Regions from separate parts of the Homo sapiens genome. Here regions 2 and 3 are each linked to region 1. The links are contacts of gene promoters, found by promoter capture Hi-C in blood cells and fetal thymus (Javierre and others, 2016). All regions are on one chromosome and are shown on one strand. Each heading gives the region's core, a stretch centred on a gene start or on the middle of the fragment in contact. The rest is flanking DNA. Distances are from core to core; before and after follow the strand shown. Region 1 holds the start of CHRM4 (cholinergic receptor muscarinic 4). Region 2 holds the start of MAPK8IP1 (mitogen-activated protein kinase 8 interacting protein 1). Region 3 overlaps ATG13 (autophagy related 13).

What was found. Contacts are between HindIII fragments. The CHiCAGO score rates a contact against its expected background, and 5 or more counts as called.
Region 2: the fragment with the promoter of MAPK8IP1 here is called in contact with the fragment with the promoter of CHRM4 in region 1 in 11 of 17 cell types (non-activated CD4 T cells, total CD8 T cells, naive CD4 T cells and 8 more); the score reaches 12.3 in non-activated CD4 T cells.
Region 3: a contact is called between a fragment that was not itself captured here and the fragment with the promoter of CHRM4 in region 1, in 1 of 17 cell types (endothelial precursors). The highest score is 7.4, in endothelial precursors.

Annotation. Positions count from the first base shown.
Region 1 is chr11:46,389,886-46,393,341 of GRCh38, reverse strand. CHRM4 (cholinergic receptor muscarinic 4) reads left to right here and starts at 1,566. Exons shown (of 2, transcript NM_000741.5): 1 at 1,566-1,811. RefSeq lists enhancers at 1-552, 2,070-2,673, 2,674-3,279 and silencers at 1,206-1,255, 1,436-1,525. The HindIII fragment of the contact is 9,198 bases long and covers 450-3,456 here.
Region 2 is chr11:45,883,923-45,887,378 of GRCh38, reverse strand. It overlaps MAPK8IP1 (mitogen-activated protein kinase 8 interacting protein 1), which reads right to left and starts at 1,728. Exons shown (of 12, transcript NM_005456.4): 1 at 1,458-1,728. The coding sequence starts at 1,558. RefSeq lists a silencer at 1,467-1,866. The HindIII fragment of the contact is 6,698 bases long and covers 1-3,456 here.
Region 3 is chr11:46,653,618-46,657,073 of GRCh38, reverse strand. ATG13 (autophagy related 13) reads right to left here. Exons shown (of 19, transcript NM_001346311.2): 8 at 801-841. Among named protein-coding and RNA genes, the nearest start is that of ATG13, 38 kb to the right of the region's middle. The HindIII fragment of the contact is 2,737 bases long and covers 468-3,204 here.

The DNA of each region.
Region 1 (3,456 bases), core at 317-2,816:
AAGGATATGGCAAAGTGGAAGAAGTGCAGGAGTGCCGTCTTAGGGTCTTATGAACCAACTTTCCTTATTTGTGAAGTGGGGCAAGAAGAGTAGTGCTTCTTTCACCCCCAGTTATGAGGTCTTGGGAGACCCGATCATTCATGTAACAACAGAAGATGGCTTCCTACTCTAGCCAACCAACCCCAGCCCTGAAGTTCCCAATTCCGACCAACCCCAGCCGTCGCGCTCGCGAGCTCTGGGGACCCGAACTCCACTTCCGGGTTCCGCGCGGAGAACCCCACACCAAGAGCCCCGCAGCGCTGGCTTCTACTCGAGTTCCCTCCCATTCTCTGCCAAGAGGCTCCTGCCTCTCCTCCACCGCCGCCCCCGCAATCGCCCTCACCACCTCCGGCCCTCGGGGGAGGGTCTTGAGTTGTTTCCCCGAGAGAAGAAATCAGACGTCTTAAGCTTAATCAAATGTTTGCGATCAGAATTTGGGGTTACAGGCCTCGGTCCTGGGCGCAGTGGGGAGCGTCCGACCCCGGCGGTCCCCCGGAAGGGCGCTCTCGGAGGGAGACAAGCGCTGGAGCGGAATCAGGCAGGCGAGGCTGCTGGGCCAGGGCGCGGGGAGCTCTCCGAGGTGCTGAAGCCGCCCCAAGGTCCGCCCAGCCTGGGCGAGGCCCGGAGTCCTGAGGCTACGGCCCGTGCGGTTCCCAGCGACCTCTGAGATTGGCTGCCCGCTCTCCGGGATCTTGTCCCGGGCTCCGGCCCCGGCGACCTTGGGCAACCGACTGTCCCTCACAGGCGGCGGTGAACTGGCGGTCCAGGCTGCGCCTGGACTGGCGGCGCGTCCCATCCCAGGGCTGGGAGAGCAGGGGCGCGCCCCTTCCCCGGCCCGGAACGCTGAGCAGGCAGCCGAGCGGGTGCGGGCGAGTGGTCCGCGGTGGGCTCTTCTCTCCCCGGCCGAACCTCTCCAGTCCACCCGCTCCTGCGCTTCCCCAGGCCCCGACGGCGCCCCTCCTCGCGGGCGGCCCGGCCGGCACGCAGCGGCGCGGCTGGAGCTCCCGGCCCTCGACCCCGACGGATCCCTGGCGGCGCAGCCCGCCCCACCCACCCGCAGCCTCCCGCTGGGGTCAGACTCCCGCGCCTCGCGGCCAAACCGCCAGCGGGGCCACGCAGGGCGCTGAGGTCCCGGAGAGGCGCGAAAATAGCTCAGGGTCCCGGGAGTATGGTCAGGGCGGAGGCGGGAGCGCGGCCGGACCCAGCTGCCAGCTCCTTCCCCAGCCCGCGAGGGGGCGCCGCGTCCCCATGACAACGCGGACACCCCCACCCCCCGGAGGGCAGCGCCCCCTGCTCCCCTGCGTCGCTGGCCGTGGGCGGCGCCCTCTGTGCCCAAGCAGGGAGCTGCCGGCCAGCCCCCGAGAGGGGCGCGGACCGCCGGGGTCTCCGACGCCTCGGGTGTTGACCCCCGCGCGTCGCCGCCGGGTGACCGGCCCGGGGCGGGCGGCGCGGCCCCGCCACGATTGGCTGCTTCCTCGTGACATCACGCGGCTCGGGGAAAAGTGCGAGCGTGAGCGCGAGTCGGAGCCACAGCGCCGGGAGCTGCGGGCGGAGCAGGGGCCGCCCCTCGACACCCCGTCCCCGCCCCCGGCCCTCGGCCCGGCCGCCCGCCCCGCCGGCCCGCGGGGCCGCGCGTCCGTCCCGCCGTCTGTCTGGCGCGAGGGGAGCTGGGCAGAGGCGGCGGGTAAGTGGCTCCGCGGCGGCGCGGGGGCGGGGGGCTCGCCGGGAAGAGCAGGAAGCAGGTCCCCGGGACGCTCTGAGGCTCCCCAGAGGTGGGTTCGACTGGGACAGGGCGCCAGACCCCCTCCGGGGCGAGCGCGGGCCGGGAGCGGCAGTGGGCCGGGGCTGGGGGACCCCGCTGGAAGCAAGGCCGGGGGCTCTCGGAGGCTTCTCCAGGTGCGCCCGGGTGCGCCCGTGGGAAGGGGTGGGCATCCAGGATGTCGGGGGCGGGGGATTGCCCGCCCACAGACCCCACGGAGCCAGGGGCAGCCGTCGGGGGTGGGACCCTGTACTCCAGCCCTCCCACTGGCGGCTCAGCAGGGCGCCGGGCGCTGAAGCCCCAAAGAGCCCTTTTCCCGCCGTCTCCCCGCCCTCCCTCTCCCTCCACCCCTTTGCCCCCGCGCTGCCAGCCCACTCCGGCCCCTGGAGTCCTCCATCTACGACCTTGAGCCCCGACGGAAAACACCCCTGCCCTCCCCGACACCCCTCCCCCGCTCCGGTACTACCCCCCTTTGCTGCCCAGCCTCCAAGCCGGGGTCCTCCAGCTCCAGGCCCCCTCCTCCGGCCCCGCAACGGAAGTGTTGGGCACAATGTCGGTGCCAAATCTTCGCCTCTCCCTCCCTTGGACTCTGGAGTCTCCTCTCCCGCCCCAGGGACAGATCCAGGGGCCACAGCCTTCCCAGAGCCATGGAGTGAATGCCCAAGAACCGAAGACCTACACCCCAAACCACCCCACGGGCGTGCGGAGCACCCCCTCCGGTCTCGCCCGGGGAAGAGGGGTGTCGAGGACTCGGGAAACACAGTGCCCACGCCCAGAGGCTGCAGGAACTGCGTGCTAGGGGCTTGGAGGGAGGGCGGGGCACCCGAGAGCCAGGGCTCCTTCGACCACGGCGGAGACATGGAGGAGCCTCCAGATGGCCTAGGAAAACACGGCCCTCGAGGCCCGCCCGACCCTAGCGTGAGAAACTGGGTCCCCACTTTGGTCACAGGGGCTAGACAGTGCCTCTGGGGTAGGGTGCAGGGTGAGGAGAGAAGGAGGACAAGAGTCTTGCACTCGCCTGACCCGAGCTCTGTCCGGGCCTCCGCCTTGTGGGTGCACTGCGGATGCCCTCTCGCCGCGAGAATGGGCGGCTTTTGGCAATAACGCCTCTTAGGGGAGTTATTAGAGCTGAGCGTGCCTGGTGTCCCTCAAGGCCAGGTTGGGCGACTCTCGCAGAGGCCCCTCGACAGATGTCAGTCAGAGGCTAGGACTCTGCCACATCTTTAAGGACTTGGACACCTCTGGGCACCGGGCTAAGACGGCGTCCCAAAGTTAGGTGGCCCGTCGCAGGCAGCCCCTAGTAGTCTGGCCTCCTCGCCCGCACAACCCTTCACCCACAGGCCAGGTGCAATCCCGATGCAGGCTCCTGGCCCGACCCTCTACGCGCTCAGGCGGACAGCTAAGGTCTGGCTGAGTCTCCGGCAGGGGCGTTTGGAATGTGACCGGTCACCCACTCTCGGCCCTGCATTTGCTTGTGCATGCAAGTCCACAGGTGTAGAGGCACCCGAACCGTGTGCATCCTCCCGGCCACAGCACCCTAGGCACGCACACGCATGCACATGCACGTGTGCACACGGCGCGGCATGCTCACGCGCTCTCACGGGCGGACTGGTATCCAGGCGTGGCCGTGCGCACACACACGCACATGCATACAGCTA
Region 2 (3,456 bases), core at 479-2,978, 510 kb after region 1:
AGCCGTAGTGTTGTCTGCTAGTGTGGGGGCTGACACTTGTTGAACACTGACCTGATGTGCTTTTTCTCCTTTCCAGGCAAGAATCAATATTAATTAGCCCACTTAACAGATGGCACCCAGAGAGGACAAAAACCTGCCTGGGTCATGCAGTTAGAAAGTAGTGGAGCTAGGATTTGAACCCAGGTCCCTCTAAGCCCCATGTGCTTCCACTGCAGAGGCCTCCAGGTGGGGAGGCAGTATTTGCATGGAGGCCTCATGCACCATGCCAGGTGGAGTCTCAGACCTCAGTCTAAGGCATTATCAGAGAGCTGCAGCCCTGGAGCCTTCAGGCCTGGCCTCCTCCATCTGGCCCCCTCTGGTCCTTCCAGCTCAGCTCAGGGCCTCAGGGAAGGTTTCTGAGTTTGATGATGCTATTAGAGATCCCCAGGGGTCTCTGCCCACCTGAGGACCTGGGAGCCAGTGACCCCTTGCTCCCAGGAGGGGCTGGCACCACAGCCCAGCTGGAGCCTGGCTGGGGTGGTGCCCCAGGAGAGGGGAAGGCGCCAGTTCTCGAGATGGGGAAACAATGGGGTATGTCTAAGCCTCCCTCTCTAGGCCGGGAGCAGTGACTTCGGCCTCTTCCTCCCCACCAACTAGGGTTCAGAATTATGGGGGAGGTACATCTATTCCTCCTCCACACAACACTCACCCCTCACTTCTCTGAAATGCATCGGGCCTAACACCAGATTGGGGGGTGGGGGTGGTGGAATAGGAGCTCAGGTCAGGGTTCTGGGTATTTACCCCAGCAGGGATCCCCTCGACACCCTCGCTGGCCCTGGCTACTCCAGAGCCGAGCCGACTTCCCTTCCCGCAGCCGGGCCTAGGATTCCCCTGGTTGAGGCTGAGCCTTCAGCGCCTGCCCTGAGAGACACACCTGCCTAGGTCGGTGCTGCCCAATCCAGAGAGGGGCCCGGCCACGCCAGGCCTGGCAGGTAGGCCCATCTGGCCAGGCAGGGCTCGGGGAGGGGCTCAAACATCCTCCTCCCAGCACCAACAATGTCGTTGCCCCAGGAAACTGCGACCCGCGCCCCTCCAGGCTGTTCCCAGCTCTATTCACAGGCTAAGATGCAGCCTGCCTGCCCGCTCCGGGATCGCAACCCCGACCCCAGACCCTGCCGCAGCCCGGAGGTTGGGGAGAAGGAGGCCTCCGAGCCCCCTCCTCCAATTCCAGCGCAGACCTCCCAGCCTAGGACCAGGAATGGCGGAGGGAACAGCCTCGTGAACATGCAACGGCTACCAGTCCGGACTTGAGGCTGGCGGGGCTTCTGAGGGGGGCTCTGTCCCGGGAAGAGACCCCACTCCCACGCAGCCCTTTCGTTCCCGGGTTCCCGAGGTTCTGGGGTGGGGGGCGGGCAGGGCAGCCAATGCGGATCAGTCCCCGCTGAAGGGCGAGGCGCGCGGCGGCCGGGGACTCTCACCTGAAATTGGGAGGCGAAGCGATGTGCAGCCCCAGGAACGGGGAGGCGGCGGGCGGGGACGCGGCCCCCCCTCCCAGGCCGCCGCTTTCTCGCTCCGCCATTCTCGGGCACAGCCCTGGCCATCCGGGCGGAGCGCGGCGCGGAGGAGGCGGCGGCTGCGAAGGAGGCGGAGGCGCGGCGAGAGGGCAGCCGCCGCCGCGGAGTTCGGGCTAGGCGGGCGCACCTGTGTCTGGCAGGGCGCGGCACAGCACCGCGCACGGCCCGCGGGACTGGCGAGAGCGCCCCGCGCGCGCCCCCGGGACCCGGCCGGGGTCTCGCGCGCCCCGCCCAGGCCCCGCCCCCACCCCGCCAGCCCCGCCCCCGGAGATGGCGCTCTCCGCGGTGCTGAAGCCACGGCCCCCGCGGCCCTGGGCTTGGTTCAGCCCCGCCCTAAATCCGACATCGACTCTCCTCCACCCCGTGGCCGGTGTGGGCTTTGTCCCTCCGGTTGGGCTTAGTGCCCGGGTATCAGATGACTAATGGCAGGACACTGGACCCCAAGGTCCAGGTTGGCCCCCCGCAGCAGAGACCAAGAAGGCAGGCGGAAAAGGAGGGTCGTGGAGGAAGGCAGAGAAAGGAGAGGATGTCAGTGGGCTCTTAAAGTGTACAGGTTTGGAGTCAGGTGGTGTGAATTCACTGGCTCCACAAGTGACTGGGCAGTGGGGCCTTGCATTAGTGACTTCAGAGCACTAAGGTTTGGTCTTCTTATCTGTGAAATGGGACAATAGCAGTCCCTCTCATGGTTGTTGTGAGAATGTAACGTAACACAAATGTGTTGCCTGAGACCCAGAAACACTCCACCTCCTGCGCTGGGATCCAGCCCTCACCCCAGTCCTGTCCCTTTACCTTGAGGGGACCCTCCCAAAGACTCTCCCTAGAGGCTGTCTTCTCTAAAGATTGACCCAAATCTCTCTTCAGCCCCAAACAGCTACTCGTGGTGAATTGAGCCCTCCAGGCTTCTCGGTCTCTCGCCAGGACCTTCCCAGCATTCTCCTTCTTAGCGCCTCAACTGCATTTCCTGCAGAGCACCCCTCTTCTGCACCCACAGACACACATTCTAAGACTTGGCGCCTTTCCCTCTCCTCCCACTGTTGACTTCTTGGGATCATTTTGGTTGTTTCTGTTCCCTCTGGCACCTCCATCCCTGCTAGGCTTTGGCCATGGCTTCTTCCTCATTGTCTCTCCCTCGAGAGGGTGTTATTCCTGGGCTTCCAGGCCTTCAAGTCCCTGAGTTTCCCGATTGAGTTATTTCAGAGTACGGACTGCCAAGGCTAGGGCCTTAGCTTTGCTGGGTCGTAGAGCCTCTGGTCAAACCTCATTGGCTTCTCTGGTCTCTCGAGAGAACCCTAGAGACCCTGTCCACAGGGCAGAAAACGTGCAGAGCAAACTGTGCCACAACTCGTGGAGTCCTATTTGCAAATCTGGACTGCCGACCAGTCATGCTGGCCCCTTTCCTTCAGTGCGGCACCTAGCAAGGAGCTGGAGGCACCTTCCGTGCAGAAGGCAACCTCCGACCACCAGCCCTGAGAATATCCCAATACCTAGAGCCAAAGGTCATGGCTGCTTCTCTTTTCCCTGTCCCTGGGGCCCAGAGGGGTGGCCACTACTTTCTCAGCTTTCGTGATCAGGCCCCTTTCACTGGGCCCTCACGGTAATCATCTGCTGCCATGGTGCCTGGCTTTTCCTCTCAGGAAAGCAGTCTTGCCATCATGGCTACTAATCGTTCCTTAGAATGTAGACCTGCCTCAGCTAGGGAACATCCTTAGCAGGTCAGGGGTGGATGTAAAGGACAACTCCCTCTTCCAGAACCTTTTGCTCAAGAGCAAAGTTATCTTAGCTCCAAAGACCAACCCAAAGCCATTATTAGAGAGAAGCCAGAAGGGCAAGAAGGAAAGGCAGGCCCAGGTCTTGGTATGAGGGAGGCCAGCAGGAGCTTCAGAGCAGAGCCAAGAATGAGACA
Region 3 (3,456 bases), core at 587-3,086, 260 kb before region 1:
TAGCTTCTTTTGCAGAGAATACTGACACTGCCCCCAGACCGTCTTTCCCTGAATTATTTGGCCTATTGTGTAATCTCTGGCATTATCCACTTAGCATGTTAAGTGCAGCAGCCTTAATTTCATATGTGTGTGTGTGTGTGTGTGTATGTGCGTGTATGTGTGTGTATATATAGGTTTCTTCCCTCTCAATGTATTCTATATTGAGCCAATATTGGCAAGGGAAACAGCACTCTATTTATAGATAAAGCTACCTTCAAAGAGATAAAATAACTGTTAGTTTTAAGGCCTGAGAAAGTTCTACTAACCAGCCCTGCAAAGGATACATCACATGCTAAAAAAGACAATGAAGGAGCACTAGAATGTCACACAAACACTTCAGTTTAAGAAGTAATTGCCTTCCACCCAAGCTGCCACTCCACGGCTAAGTAAAGAGCCAAGGCCTTGCAAGTGACACTTTCAACAAAGCTTTCCTGATTTTCTTGGTTTCATTTCCAATTTTTCAAAATTCTTGTTGTTCATCAGAAACATTTAACATCCTCACTGTAGAAAATTAGGAAAATATACAGTTTTATAAAGAGTAAGAAAGAAGACTGAGTTCCTGGAACTTTGGGAAAAATTATTTGGTTACCCTGGCAGATCAGGGGTAACCTGGACCACCTACCTGCATTCTCATCTTTTCTTTACTTGTATTATGCATATTAAGATGACAATCTACATATTATAACAAGTAGAAACGAAGATCATCTCTGAAGTTAGGAGAGCTCTGAACACTACGATGTTTTTCAACCGTTGATACATACCTTCTCCTAAGCCACTCAGCTGAACTTCTCCAAAATATATCCTGTATGGAAGAAAAAATAAGAAATGTTACCTGATTCTTTACTCCTAAGGGCCTCTATAGCCAAAACACGTAGAAACAAAATAAAACAAAGCCTTCCTTACTCATCTGCTCAAATACCTCTGCTGATGGAGCATTAGTAATTCCTACTACTTCAATTAAGCTACAGGCATGGAGACGTACAGAGTGGGTTGGTTAAAAAATAAGGAAAATAAGGCCAGGCACAGTGGCTCATGCCTGTGATCCCAGCACTTCGGGAGGATCACTTGAGGCCAGGAGTTCAAGACCAGTCTGGGCAACACAGCAAGACCCTGCATTGACAAAAAATAATTTTGCCGGGTGTGATGGTGCATGCCTGGAGTACCAGATAACTGGGAGGCTGAGGTGGGAGGATCACTTAAGCCCAGGAAGTTGACGCTGCAGTGAGCCAAGATTGCACCATTGCATTCCAGCCTGGGCAAAAGGATGAGACGCTGTCTCAAAAAAAGAAATGAGGAAAATAATAATTAAGTGGAAACTGCTATTTAAGTTTCTTCTCTCTGCTACTAAAATGTATTTTAAAATTATACCTACTGAGAAATAAAGAATATATAAATAAAAGTGGCCAACAGGTCTAGGATTGCTACTAGAAGGCACTGGTTTTGTTTTGTTTTGTTTTGTTTGAGACGGAGTCTTGCTCTGTCACCCAGGCTGCAGTGCAGTGGCATGATCTCGGCTCACTGCAACCTCCAGCCTCCTGGGTTCAAGCGATTCTCCTACCTCAGCCTCCCAAGTAGCTGGGATTACAGACGCATGCCACCACGCCCGGCTGTTTTTTTGTTTGTTTGTTTTGCTTTTTGAGACTGAGTCTCACTCTGTCGCCCTGGCTGGAGTGCAGTGGTGCAATCTCGGCTCACTGCAAGCTCCGCCTCCCAGGTTCATGCCATTCTCCTGCCTCAGCCTCCCGAGCAGCTGGACTACAGGTGTCCGCCACCGCGCCCGGCTAATTTTTTGTATTTTTAGTAGAGACGGGTTTTCGCCGTGTTAGCCAGGATGGTTTCGATCTCCTGATCTCGTGATCCGCCCGTCTCAGCCTCCCAAAGTGCTGGGATTACAGGCGTGAGCCACTGCGCCCGGACCTGTTTTTTGGTTTTTTTTGAGACAGTGTCTCGCTCTGTCGCTCAGGCTGGAGTGCAATGGCACCATCTTGGCTCACTGCAACCTCCACCTCCTGGACTCAAGCGATTCTTGTGCCTCAGCCTCCCAAATGGCTGGCACTACAGGTATGCGCTACCATGCCTGGCTAATTTTTGTATTTTTGGTAGAGACAGGGTTTCGCCACATTGCCCAGGCTGGTCTTGAACTCCTGAGCTCAAGTGATACACCCGCCGTAGCCTCCCAAAGTGCTGGGATTACAGGTGCAAGCCACCATGCCTGGCCTGTTTTTCGGGTTTTTTAAAAATAATTTTTGGTAGAGACAGGGTCTAACTATTGCCCAGGCTGGTTGCAAACTCCTGGCCTCAACTGTTTTTTTTGAGACAGGGTCTCAGTGTGTTGCCCATGCTGGAGTGCAGTGGTATGACCACTGCCCACTGCAGCCTCAACCTCCTGGGCTCAAGAGATCCTCTCACCTCAGTCTCCTAAGCAGCTGGGACTACAGGCACGTGCCACCACACCCAGCTAAGTTTTTTTATTTCTAGTATAGACAGGGTCTCGGTGTGTTGCCCAGGCTGGTATCGAACTCCTGAACTCAAGCGATCCTCCCACCTCATTCTCCCAAAGTGCTGGGATTACAGGTGTGAGCCACTGCCCCTGGTCCTGGCCTCAAATTATTCTCCCACTTCAGTCTCCCAAAGTGCTGGGATCACAGGCATGAGCCACCATACCTGACCAGAATGTACTAGAGTTTGATAAGTGGTCTTTAGTTGTGGGAAGCTCTCTTTTACATATATATATATATATATATATATATAAAATTTTAAAAATAGTAGTGATGAGGTCTTGCCATGTGACCCAGGCTGGTCTGAAACTCCGGGGCTCAAGCAATCCTCCCACCTCAGCCTCCCAAAGTGCTGGGATTACAGGTGTGAGCCAACTGTGCCTGGCCATGAAGAAATCTCTAAGTAGATGGCTTAACAAAGCAGGAAATCTTTTCCACCGTGGAATAATGAACTAGGTAAGACTATTCTGAAAAAAAAAAATAAAAACATAAACACAGTGGAACCTTCCTATGATTCTCCCTGGACAGGCCAGTCTATATTAGCAAAAAGTTTGAATTCAAAATACCTAAAATCTATTTTCATATTTTTCAAGTAATATTGTTAAAATTAAATATACACATGGGTTTATTCAATAAATACTAAGCTCCAACAATGTATGAAGAAGCTTCGCCAGGCGCGGTGGCTCACGCCTGTAATCCCAGCACTTTGGGAGTCTGAGGCGGGTGGATCATGAGGTCAGGAGATCGAGACCATCCTGGCTAACATGGTGAAACCCCGTCTCTACTAAAAATACAAAAAATTAGCCGGGCGTGGTGGCGGGTGCCTGTAGTCCCAGCTACTCGGGAGGCTGAGGCAGGAGAATGGCGTGAACCTGGGAGGCGGAGCTTGCAGTGAGCCGAGATTGTGCCATTGTACTCC